Regions from separate parts of the Homo sapiens genome. Here all the other regions are linked to region 2. Evidence: promoter capture Hi-C in 16 types of primary human blood cells and fetal thymus (Javierre and others, 2016). All regions are on one chromosome and are shown on one strand. The core of a region is centred on a gene start or on the middle of the fragment in contact, and the rest is flanking DNA. Distances in the headings are between cores, read along the strand shown.

Region 1 (3,962 bases), core at 782-3,281, 700 kb before region 2:
GTGTGAAATTAAAATGTTAGTTGACAGTGTCGTTTTACACATGCACAGATCCTCCATTCCTATTCATTTCTCAGCACAGGTCAGGATTTTCACCTCTTTTGTGAAGGAAAGCTTTTACCTCATGTTTTATAAAGTTATAAATGCTCTGAACATAAATTCTCACACAACCCCTGTGGTTTCCGAGGCAAATCACAAACTTACAGAACAACATTGCTCTGCTTGATCTTGAATAGTAAAATATTTTATAGGAAACATAGAGCTAACTAGGGGAAGTAGTCATTTCTGCTGTAAAGACATGGCTTTATGGTCACAAAGGGATGAATTTTGGAGAGGGTGGTGGCCCTTTCTCACCCCAAGTTGGCATCTGCTTCTCAAAGAGAGGGGGCTGAGGTTATAACCTGAGCAGACAGGAATACTCACTTTGAGCAACTGTCTAGAGCTTTCAGAGCCAGCCATACAAACAGTCAAAATCTGATGCAGAAAGAGTACAAAACCCACAATGTAAAATAATGAGTAATATTTTTTAATACTGTGGTATCTGTTTCTGATTTAGGGTCAATCTTAGTTTACAAACTGAAGCGAGAAGACACGCAGGCTAGGAAACCATGGCACAGAAGATTAAGCGGTTTAACTCTGGTCAAGAAACTAGTAGCTGCTTAAGTAATTATTGTATCCAGTCTCCTTCCTTCTTCACACTGCACACTTGAATAACTGAGCTGCCGCAAGCAACCTGACCTTCAGAAGTAGATGGGTCTGCCTCTATCAAGATTGCATGCATTCAGAGCCAAAGAAAATACAAAACTGTCCAACACTTCAAGAAGGGAGAAGAAACATTAGGAGAAATATCTAATGTAGATAATATGTTGATCGGTGCAGCAAACCACCATGGCACGTGTATACCTATGTAACAAACCTGCACATTCTGCATATGTATCCCAGAACTTAAAGTATTAAAAAAACTATAATTTCTACCTTTTTGACTGTACCATCCCATCATTTTCATCAGCTTAATAAATGTCAAAACAAATTTGATTGTTTTCAAATTTTTAGCCAAACTGGAGGAAAATATTGACTAGTCCCCACCTCGGAACAGAATTATGGACTCTCACTATTTTCTCTTTTATCATCTCTACCAACAATGTAAGCTTATCTAGACCCATGTGCATGATTGAAAGAAGAAGGTACATTTTTATTGTGGTAAAACATACATTAACATGAAATTTACCATGTAAATCATTTTGAAGTGTACAATTCATTGGCATTAACTACATTCACGTTGTTACGCAATCATTATCACCACCCATTTCTAGAACTTTTTCATCATCCCAAACAGAAACTGTACTCATTAAATAATAACTCCTGATTAATCTCTCCCCCCAACCACTGGTAACTTCTATTTTCCATCTCTGTGAATGTATCTATTCTAGGTACCTCATATAGGTGGAATCACACATTATTTGTCCTTTTGTGACCTACTTATTTCACATAATGTAGCACAATGTCTTCAATACTCACCTCTGTTGTAGCATGTGTAGCAGTGCACAAAGCTTCCAAGGTCTCCACATTCTCACCAACATTTATTTTCCATTTTTCGATACTAGCCTTCCTAATGAGTGTGAGAAGAAGGTATTTTATTTATTTATTTATTTATTTTGAGACAGAATTTGACTCTTGTCACCCAGGCTGGAGTGCAATGGCACGATCTCGGCTCACTGCAACCTCCGCCTCCCAGGTTCAAGTGATTCTCCTGTCTCAGCCTCCTGAGTAGCTGGGATTACAGGCACCTGCCACCATGCCTGACTAATTTTTTTTGTATTTAGGAGAGACGGGGTTTCACCATGTTAGTCCGGCTGGTCTCAAACTCCCGACCTCAGGTGATCCACCCGCCTCATCCTCCCAAAGTGCTGGGATTACAGGCATGCACCACCACGCCCTGCCAGAAGAACCCATCTTTTAACCCATTTTTGAGGTGGCCCCAGTGCTGCAAATATATTAATAGCTTAATACATTTTTTGGAGAGCCAAACAAATATGACTTGATGAGAAGTTTGCCATCTCTATCTCTTCATTAAGCCAGAGTAGCCACCCATAAAGTATATTTTGACAGAGGTTCTGGAATAAAGCCATGCCAGGGACAAGGGGTGAGAGGAAGCATCTGGCGGAAAGTCTCGCAAGTCCAAAATCTGTACAGCAAACCATCAGGCTGGAAATTCAGCAAGAGTTGAAGTTGAAGACCTGAATCCAAAATCTGCAGGCTGGACACCCAGGCAGTGTTTCTATATTGAAATCTTGAGGCAGAGTTTCTTCCTCTTTGGGATGCTTCAGTCTTTTCTCCTAAGACCTGATTGAATGAGGCCTACCCATATTATGAAGGGTAGTCTATTTTACTGAAAGTCTACTGATTTAAATGTTAAGTTTATTCTAAAAATACCTTCACAGCTACATCCAGTTTAGTGTTTGACCAAACATCTGGGTACCATAACCTAGTCAATTTGACATATTACATTGACCACAATAGAAGCTTCTACAATAGGAGATTTTACCCTAAGTTTACACTAAAAATGTAAAGAAGCTGAGCACAGTGGCTCACATCTGTTATCCCAGCACTTTGAGAGGCCTAAGTGGAGGTTACTTGAGTCCAGGAGTTCAAGGCCAACCTGGGCAACATAATCAGACCCCATCTCTAAAAAAAAAGAAAAAGAAAAACTAGTTAAGACTTTACATCAAGGACTCAACAGTAAAGACTAAGAACTTTATACTAATGTAAGACTTTATACTAAAAAAAAGCTTGTTTGTTTGTAATGGGGTTTTTAGATGTTACTTTTGTTCTCAATTACTGAAACTTTCAGGCATAAATTTGGGTTTTATAAATATTAGCAATTACCATGGGAGGGTCTTAACAAAATCATTTTTAAATGAATCCTTTACAAATCATTTAAAAACTTTTCTGCGAGGATTCTTGATGCTTCTATTCTTCTTCTTCAAATCAAAAAAACATCTACTGTCACAGACTTCGAACCATGCAGTATTTGCTTTGTGGATTGTTAGATCATAGAGAGTGTTTTCTAGTTTGATCAGAGGGTAGGGGGATTGGATATGCCTGGGGAAACTGAAGTTGAAAATGTGAGCCAGGTTGGGAGTTGAGTAGCAGGGCAAGAGTTTGGACTGGTTTGAAATGGGACGTTTAACTGATAGAACTGGAGATTGTTTGGCCTATAGGATTGGAGGGATAAACTTATTTGACAGCTATCGGCTTGTGGAGGACAGAATTTGAAAATCCTTCCACTAAAAGCACCTAGAAATACTGGCTAAAATATAATATATTTTTATTATCTAATGTAGACACAGTTCAGAAATGAACCTGGAACTAAAACCACAGTGAGAAGCTTTGAGCAGTGATGCTCTGGCTTCCAGAGGACAGGTTGTTAGTCTCAGCAATCTAGGAATCTGCTGATCTTCAGTTACCTGGGGCATCTCTGTTAATACGAAAAAGAAGAGGGGAGATGAATGAAGCCTTGAGTCTTTCTCAAATGGGAAGTTGGAACCAAGGGGCCTACATAAAGTCAGCACTTTCAAAGTACTGCTCCCTATTAAGAGCAAAGACTAGAAACAAATCCACTCCAACAGAAAGACAACAAAGAGACAGGTAAGTCTTGTTCCTTCTGCCATTAGGTCAGAACCAGAGTTCCCAAAGCAATGTGTTCTCTATTATTTGACAATGAATTTCCTTCTCTTGCTTCCTATGCAGAAAACCAAAATCGAGACACAATATTTATCTGATATTAGTGCTCCACATTCCTCCAATATGTATCTCTCATTATGACCAGAATGACTTCCTCATAGCCAGTTAAGCAGACTGCTCTTCCTAGATATAAACTCTCTGGGATTAGAGGACAAGAGTTTGCTCAGTGTGCTAGCCCCCATTTCAGCATCTTTGTGCCTGAACATCTTGTCCTCTGGTGG
Region 2 (3,989 bases), core at 431-2,930:
ACATATATCTCCTTCTAGGATAAAGTTATTTTTAAAAATCAAGAGAAATTTAAGACACGATTATAAAAAAGACAGATTACCCCAGACATTTGGCATGTTAGAAGACACAGATAGATTTTATTTTAAGTATAGCTCCCTTGTTCAATGTTATGGATAAGATATAGCTAAAACATGAATAGTGTGTAAATATGAATGTGTAAATATTCAGAGAATGAGGCAGAGATTTGAAATAATAAATAAGGAAAATATTGAGCCCTATTGGAAATTACTTGGAGTTACTCACAAATTACATGCCACCTCTTTTTTAAAGACTACCATTATATGATAAAATAAAATTTGGGTTGAATAAATGAAGTTGGAGTCTCCTTATCTTCAACAGGAAGCTGGCTCATATACTTGAGAGATGCTTTTTGAATATTTGACTTTCACTTTTTGCCAGAATGAACATTTGGGGAATATATCTGGCTAGACCTGAATAATACCCCCCAATCCCCAAGAAACACAGGAAGAAAGAGAGAGAGAGACAAAACTGAGAAAGAAGGGTGTCTAGGCTCTTAAAATTATCCTAGACATTGACTAAGTCCTAGACTCAAGAACTATTATAACCTAGGAAAAGTCCATCTCTAGAGTTAACATTTTATAATTTCTCACGATAATTAATAAAACTCTACTGTGTTTTTTAAATGAATCCATTAATAAAAAATATATCCTGTGTAATAGCCTAAGTTTGGGGATTCAGTTAGAAAAAAGGTTAGAGTTCCCTGAACTTATAGTACTTATTTCTCCAAATCCTCTGGACGTGTGTAAGGTAAGATTTATTTGTTCCATAGCCATTCACTCAACAGAGATTTCTTGAACACCTGCTATGTGTCTGCTGATTGCTGGGCTCATACTAGTCGGCAACACCGACATGATTTCTGCCTTCAGCCTTCATAATCAGATACTCATACAATCACATAGTTGGACACTATTTAAAAAAAAATGCTGGAAAGAGTTTAAGGCAGGGGTGGGTATTAAGCCCTTCCTGAGGAAATGGGACTCGGAGGAGGAGGATAAATTAACGATATTAAGAGTGAGGACGGGCGTGGATATGCTAGCCAGAGGGGACCTGTATGGACAAAAGGCCAGAGAAACTGATTTGGAAAATTAAGGTCCTCCCCCGCCCCTGCTCCCCACCCCCGACCCCGCCCAAACTTCGAGGTCCTCAGAATGCTGGAGCACAGAACACTACTTCTTACAGAATGGTTTCTGTATTTTGACTTTTCCCCAAAGACATGCTCTACAAGGAGGTGTCTCTTGGCTATAAACACTGCAGACAAGTTTTTGCTTGTGCATCTTGTCCAGCGCGTTTTGCTTGATTTTTAAATCTAGATGCATTTAGGCGGGCGTACACGTTCGGATTTGTCACAGGCCACCTAACTCTATTGGTCTCACACACGTGTGCCACCTGTCTGACCCCTGGGAAACAGAGTTTGCAAGGTTTTCCCGTTGACTACTCGACTTTAGCACCAAAGAGAAGCAGGAGTGCAGAAGACAGGGCAAAATCGCCAACCCGGCGCAAGCAGCGCAAGCGCAGTGGGCGCTGGGGAGCGCGGAGGAAAAGGCGGGACGCCGCATGGTGGCCAGTCACTGCGCATGAGCGGCCCGCGTTGCCAAGACAGCTGGGAAGGCGTCTCCCGGAAGACGACCTCCGCAGAGCTGATGGCATTGAGATCCATTCCCGGAGGGGTCAGCTCCTGACGGGTTCCTGAGCCAGTCTTAACCTGGGCAAAGGAGATGAGGAGCCGAGCCTGATGCATTGTGATGGCCATCTGCCCAGAATTGGCCCAAACGGACAAAAGTGCTCTTGCAAACCTTTCTGATGAGACTGAGACTTTGAAGAACTCTACTGATGAGGTACAGACTTCCAGCTCATTCAGCTCCTCTGGAGGACGGCAGTCCTCGCCCCTGACCTCTGGGAGCAAACTGGAGAGGGAAAAGCAGACTCCAAGCTTGGAACAAGGAGACACACAATCTGAGCTTTTGGACTATAAAAATTATGAAAAGAAGTTGAGTAAAAAATGGATCAACTACCTCAAGCTCAAAGACTCTAACTTTGAACGGCACCAACCAGACACCAAACTTCCAACAGAAATCACTCGGGTATCAGATGAAGAATTGAATGCCCTGCAGTCTTATTGCACCATGAAGATAAATTTGATTCATCGTAGAGGGGATTCTAAGAAGAAGACGAGCAGCAGACATAAAAAGCTGCATCTTGGATTGGATGTAGAGGCTTCAGAGAGAGATGCCTTTAGTTGTACTGTACCCGATGAACTTTTGAACAGAATCTACTTTAAAAACATGAGGACAACGCCAAAACAGGAGGCAGCAGCTAAGCAACACATATCTTATCAGTGTCCCTATTGTAACAGGAAAAGAGCGGAGCTGGCCCTGTCTGCCTTTCTGAAACAAAAGAAGACTTTACTGGAGTCATTTCTACTCCAAGAGAGAATAGATGAACATCTTCATACCAAAGACTTTCTCACCCGTATTGGAGAAGCACATCAAGACTTTCCCAGGCTTTCAGATGACCCCAGAATAATCTGGAAAAGACTGACTGAGAAAAGTCATATCAGATACTCTGGTTTTGAAAGATCAGAGACAGAGCAGAAGTTGCAGCGAGATGGAAATAGTGCTTGTCATTTACCATTTTCTCTGCCATTTCTCAAGCGACTTACTCTAATCAAACCAGAGCTGGTGATTGTTAATGATAATGTGTAATGTGGATAGATGTCTTTGTTGTGTATTTGAGTAATTACCATAATTTCTACAGGCACTTGGGAAACTAACTTAAGACTTTACTATGCTTCCTTCACAGATTTGAGGACTAAGAACTTTCACTTTTTTTTTCCTATTATAGAAGGCACTGTTGTAGTTGGAATAGTTATAAAAACTTTTACAAAATTCCAAGAGAACTATGTTGGTAGTTTGGGCCAGGATGTTGATGGTACAGAAGCAAAGTAGTATGGGGATGTAAGAGAAACTTAAAAAGTAATAACTGTCTTTGGCGATCAAATGGCTATGGGGAATTAATAAATAGTAGATGTTTGAAATGTTATTAAGGCTCTGACTTGTGCGCCCGGATGAATGATCATTAATTTCATTAAGACAGGAACACCAGAAGAGGACTATGTTTGATGGAACTGTTGAAGAGTATGATTATTTGGACATATAAGGTGCATTTGGGACATACACATTGACAGTTTGAAGAAACATTTGATTATTTGTTTTTGCGCTTCAGAGGAAAGGTATAGCCTAGAGGTGCAAAATAAATTGGGGTAGGACTGGGGGAAGGGTGGGGATCAATGGCATATAGCTGGAAGTTGAAGCCGTAGATTGTCAAGCGTTTTTGGAAATGAATAAGAAGAGAAGCAGGGTTGATACAAACTCTTGAGAAATGCCAATTAATGGCTAAGTAGAGAAAAATAAACCTGCAGAAAAGATTGTGAAAAAAGTTATCAAGTGGATCAAGGAAATCAGGAATGTATAGTGTCATAGATGCTAAGGAATGAATATTTAAAGAAGGATAGTTGTCTAACCACATCAATCAACAGAGAAGCCATGTAAAGATGATTTAGTCATGTATTGGGCACTGCTGACCTTAGCAAAAGCCATTTCACTTATACAAATGGGGCAGACAAAATAGATTGAGGAAAAATGTAAGTAAATAATGAATGGATATAGGGTACTCCTTGAAATATTTAGCTGTAAGGGGAAGAAGAAGTAAAGCTGGGGTTAGGTGTTGAGTTTTGAGAGAAGAACGCTTAAACAAATTATCTAGATAGCCATTTTGGTCGTGAAGATTTTATGAACCTTCTGTTGTTCATCCAAATTTATGTAATGAGGAAACAGTATTATTCCACAAGGAATACCATGGCATTTTGAAAACACATTTATGGAGAAAAATGTTAGATGGCATTCTGAGAAGCCATTTATTATCTATTTCC
Region 3 (4,010 bases), core at 984-3,483, 540 kb before region 2:
ATGAGTTGTACTGTTCAGTGTACATCCTGCAGTAGTGGATGATTGAAAACATATATAAGTGGAGTATAAATTAAAAATTAATTTGGTTTCTTCTATTTCTTTTTTTTTTTTTTTTTTTTGAGACAGAGTCTCGCTCTGTCGCCCAGGCTGGAGTGCACTGGCGCGATCTCGGCTCACTGTAAGCTCCGCCTCCCGGGTTCACGCCATCCTCCTGCCTCAGCCTCCCAAGTAGCTGGGACTACTGGCACCCACCACGACGCCCGGCTGTTTTTTTGTATTTTTAGGAGAGACGGGGTTTCACCGTGTTAGCCAGGATGGTCTCGATCTCCTGACGTCGTGATCCACCCGCCTCGGCCCCCCACAGTGCTGGGATTACAGGCGTGAGCCACCGCGCCCGGCCTGTTCCTTTTATTTCTTAATTCAGGACACTAAACCATGACTGCAAGGGATTTCCTTGGTAAAAAGAAAAGATTCTCAGAGTCAAAATGGTCTTACAACTCGGGCTTGACGGCCTTTGAATTATGAATGGATTGTTCCTCTCTCTGAAGCCTATTGTCACATGGGTTTTTAATCCTGGCCTTGCTGCTAGAAATCTGTGCTTGAAGTCCTCTCTTTCTGCTGCTAGCCTACCAGTTAAAAGTCAAGACTTGGTGGAACTCAGTTTACCAGACTCTTTAGCCTTTGAGCTAAACTGTCTGAGCAACCTCTTAGATGTGCACACACCACTTTGTATGAAAGGGTTCTCTAGAACGGTTCTTTGGAGAGAAATATTTTCATGTACGTTTGACAGGGGTGTAAATAAAGCATGCTGACTAATAAGTCTTTTACTCTTCATCTAATGAACATAAGAATCTATGCATCCAGATATTATTTTGTATACAAATATTTAATTTGGTGATTGATAATCTCTCTTTGGGGTAGTCACATGGAAAGCTCTTTTAAATTTAACTTCCGCCTTTGGATTTTTTTTAAAAAGCCATTGAAGAGCAAAACTAATGTAAACGTCTTGATCATTTAAAAAGCTTGCTTGTCCTCGAAAGGAAACACAGGTCATCAGTGAGTATAAACGTAGACAGTTGATTTGTGAATGCTGTCGGCCTCAACTTGCTTGATGATAGATTCTACTGACCTAGCTGGAGTAATCTGATCACTTACTTCCTTATTAATACTAGATCACACAGTGTCTTTCTTATTCCTTCTTCTTTACTTACTGGCATCAGCACAGAGTCCCACTATCTGAAATAGAAGGGAGAGTTTGGGGGTTTATTGGAGGAGTCTTAAAAACTTGGTTGGCAGCTGGGTACGATGACTCACACCTGTACTCCCAGCACTTCAGGAAGCTGAGGTGGGTGGATCAGCTGAGGTCAGGAGTTTGAGACCAGCCTGACCAACATGGTGAAACCCCGTCTTTATTAAATACAAAAAATTAGCCAGGTTGGTGGCGCATGCCTGTAATCCCAGCTACTTGGGAGGCTGAGGCAGGAGAATCGCTTGAACCTGGGAGGCGGAGGTTGCAGTGAGCCGAGATTGTGCCATTGCACTCCAACCTGGGCAACAAGAGTGAAACTCCATCTCCAACAAAACAAAACTTTGCTGGCTTCCTGATGCCTCACTGTCTATTTGAGGAATTCCACAGAATCTTCAAAGGATTTGGGGGAAAGCGCATTAACATGGACAAAGGATGGAATCAAAATAATGTTATAGTGAGAATCATTCAAGCACCTATTTAAATTTTTTCCAATTGCCAGTATAGTGATGATATGACACCAGCATATCAAAGTAACTAACAAACTAGCTACACAAACGTCTTGGAGTTTGGTTTCGTTCTCTTTTCTCATCATAGATCTCCGTGCAGAATAGTGCTAATTCTTATTTCTCGTTTGCCTTTCTATTTCCTTCCAAATTCTACATGCCAGTAATTCCTCTGTCTTTTAAGTGACCATCAATTCAATAGGCAAAAATTTGGAGTAATCCAGAGAAAAAACCATCCAAATATAAACCAGCTAGGAACATGAATGCCCCTGATTATTAATGGCCAAAAAAAAAGCACTGGTGGATTTTAAATTAAATTAATACATATATACGAGTTTGGAGGAGAACAGAAGTTCTAACTCAGTACTTGAACTTGGTGGGGGAGGGCACAGGTTAAATATGAGCTGTGAGCCCCCAGTTTTGGAGGAAGGAGGAAATGGGAACCAACCACCAGACAAGCAGCTGCAGTCTAAGAAAAACAAATTAGGGCAGGCCTCAGCATCTCTTTCCTATTACATAGAAAATCTGAAATGAGAATAGCTGTGAACTTTTCTAAATATGCAACATTCAACTATCGCAAGGACAAAAAACCAAACACCGCATGTTCTCACTCATAGGTGGGAATTGAACAATGAGAACACATGGACACAGTAAGGGGAACATCACACACTGGGACCTGTTGTGACCCCGCTGAGGGAGTTCCTCTTGCCCTCTACCCCCGGGGCTTGTATATAGATTATAAATATATAAGGGGGAAAGGGGTGGGGGGGAGGGGTTGTGCGGCTGGGGCCTCACTTCCCCTCCTTCCCCTTCTCCTGGTCCCCTGTCCCAGGGGCTGTTTGTTAAAAAAGAGTAATAAAGGATTTTTGTTTTTAAAAAAAGCAACGTTCATTAATTTATATGCAGTCCTCACCACAGCCCTCCAAGATAACTATACTTATTGTTCCCATTTTGCAGATGAGGAAAACTGAGGCAGAAAGAAATTAAATTGCTTAAGGTTACACACATAGTAGGTATCACACATTTAGTTAGAGGCAGAGCTGGGATTCAAACCCAGGTCTGGCTCCTAGTCTCTGCTCTTAACCACAACACCATATACTCCCACCCCTGGGCCCAGCTCATGTGCTTGGCGGAGTATTAGAGCCTTTCAAGGTAAGTGTGATTATCCCCTTTCCAAATGAGCTTTGGAAAAGTTTAAGCAAAGATTACACAGCTAGACAATAATTCAATAGTAGTCTCTTACATATTTTCCCTTTTATCTTTTTTTCATTTGTAAATCTGTTTCGATTTGATTTGAATTAAAAAATAGTTCTTGGTTGCAAAATATTCTGGGACCACTTTTCTCCAACTCTTCAACCTTTCAACAATTATATTATTGTTTTCCCATTTTATAAGTAAGGCAACTGAGGACTATTCAGATATTTCATTCACTCCATTTGTTTACTAAGCCCTGCTGTGTGCTGGATACACAGTCTGCTGTGTGCTGGATACATATGATACAAGGTAATGACTATCTGGCATCTTGAAGGTACCCAGAATATTAGAATTAACTGACCCACAGGTGCCAAGCTGAAACATTCTTCGTATTCCCTGTGTGCCTATTACCAAGTTATATTGTTTAGTTTGAGGAAAACAACAAACAACCCTCCCTTAGAGAATCATGATGCATATTAGCATATTTAAGGAGTACCCTAAAGCTTGGACTTAATCTAGCTTACCCTAGACGTATTAACATCCTATAGCGCACGTGTTCTGTGGGATATATTTCAGAAAATAATATGTCTTACAGAATAAATGCAGACTCCTTTGGATGGCATTCAGGCCCTTCATAAAGTAACTCTGAATTATTTTTCAGTCTCATTTCCTGCAGTTGCACCCGATTTTTTCTGTTCTGCAATCTGCTATTTTAGACAAAGCTTTCATAAGAAATTACATAATGACAAGTAATTCCCACATTCCCTAGATATATACTTGGATTTCAAATGCCATAATTGTAATCTTTCTCCAAAGAAAAATGCACGATACAGGCTTCATTCTATCAAGAGGCATATGAGGTAAGCGTTATTATACACCCGTCCAGCAGATGGGAAAACCACGGAAGTGGGAGGGAATCAAGAAGCATTAACAGACCCTCCACCAACCGTAATGCTTAACTCCTCTTGTTCCAATCTTAACTCAAAATTATGATTATTTTGATTATTTAATGATTGTTTTGATAGTATAAACTCCATATCTGCAACCTCAGTTATCTACAACAC

The links. The method cuts DNA at HindIII sites, captures the fragments that hold promoters and counts their contacts. A CHiCAGO score of 5 or more calls a contact.
Region 1: a fragment that was not itself captured here is called in contact with the fragment with the promoter of C8orf48 in region 2 in 1 of 17 cell types (megakaryocytes); the score reaches 5.7 in megakaryocytes.
Region 3: a contact is called between a fragment that was not itself captured here and the fragment with the promoter of C8orf48 in region 2, in 1 of 17 cell types (erythroblasts). The highest score is 6.0, in erythroblasts.

What each region holds. Positions count from the first base shown.
Region 1 is chr8:12,862,352-12,866,313 of GRCh38, forward strand. It overlaps LOC105379289 (a long non-coding RNA gene), which reads left to right and starts at 3,115. Exons shown (of 3, transcript XR_949509.3): 1 at 3,115-3,645. The HindIII fragment of the contact is 973 bases long and covers 1,546-2,518 here.
Region 2 is chr8:13,565,189-13,569,177 of GRCh38, forward strand. C8orf48 (chromosome 8 open reading frame 48) reads left to right here and starts at 1,681. Exons shown (of 1, transcript NM_001007090.3): 1 at 1,681-3,100. The coding sequence starts at 1,804. The coding sequence ends at 2,763. It also overlaps a transcript of DLC1 not described here. The HindIII fragment of the contact is 14,151 bases long and covers 1-1,989 here.
Region 3 is chr8:13,023,943-13,027,952 of GRCh38, forward strand. TRMT9B (tRNA methyltransferase 9B (putative)) reads left to right here. Exons shown (of 5, transcript NM_020844.3): 5 at 1-4,010. All of the region lies in intron 3 of LOC124901889 (a long non-coding RNA gene), which reads right to left. Among named protein-coding and RNA genes, the nearest start is that of TRMT9B, 80 kb to the left of the region's middle. The HindIII fragment of the contact is 2,427 bases long and covers 1,021-3,447 here.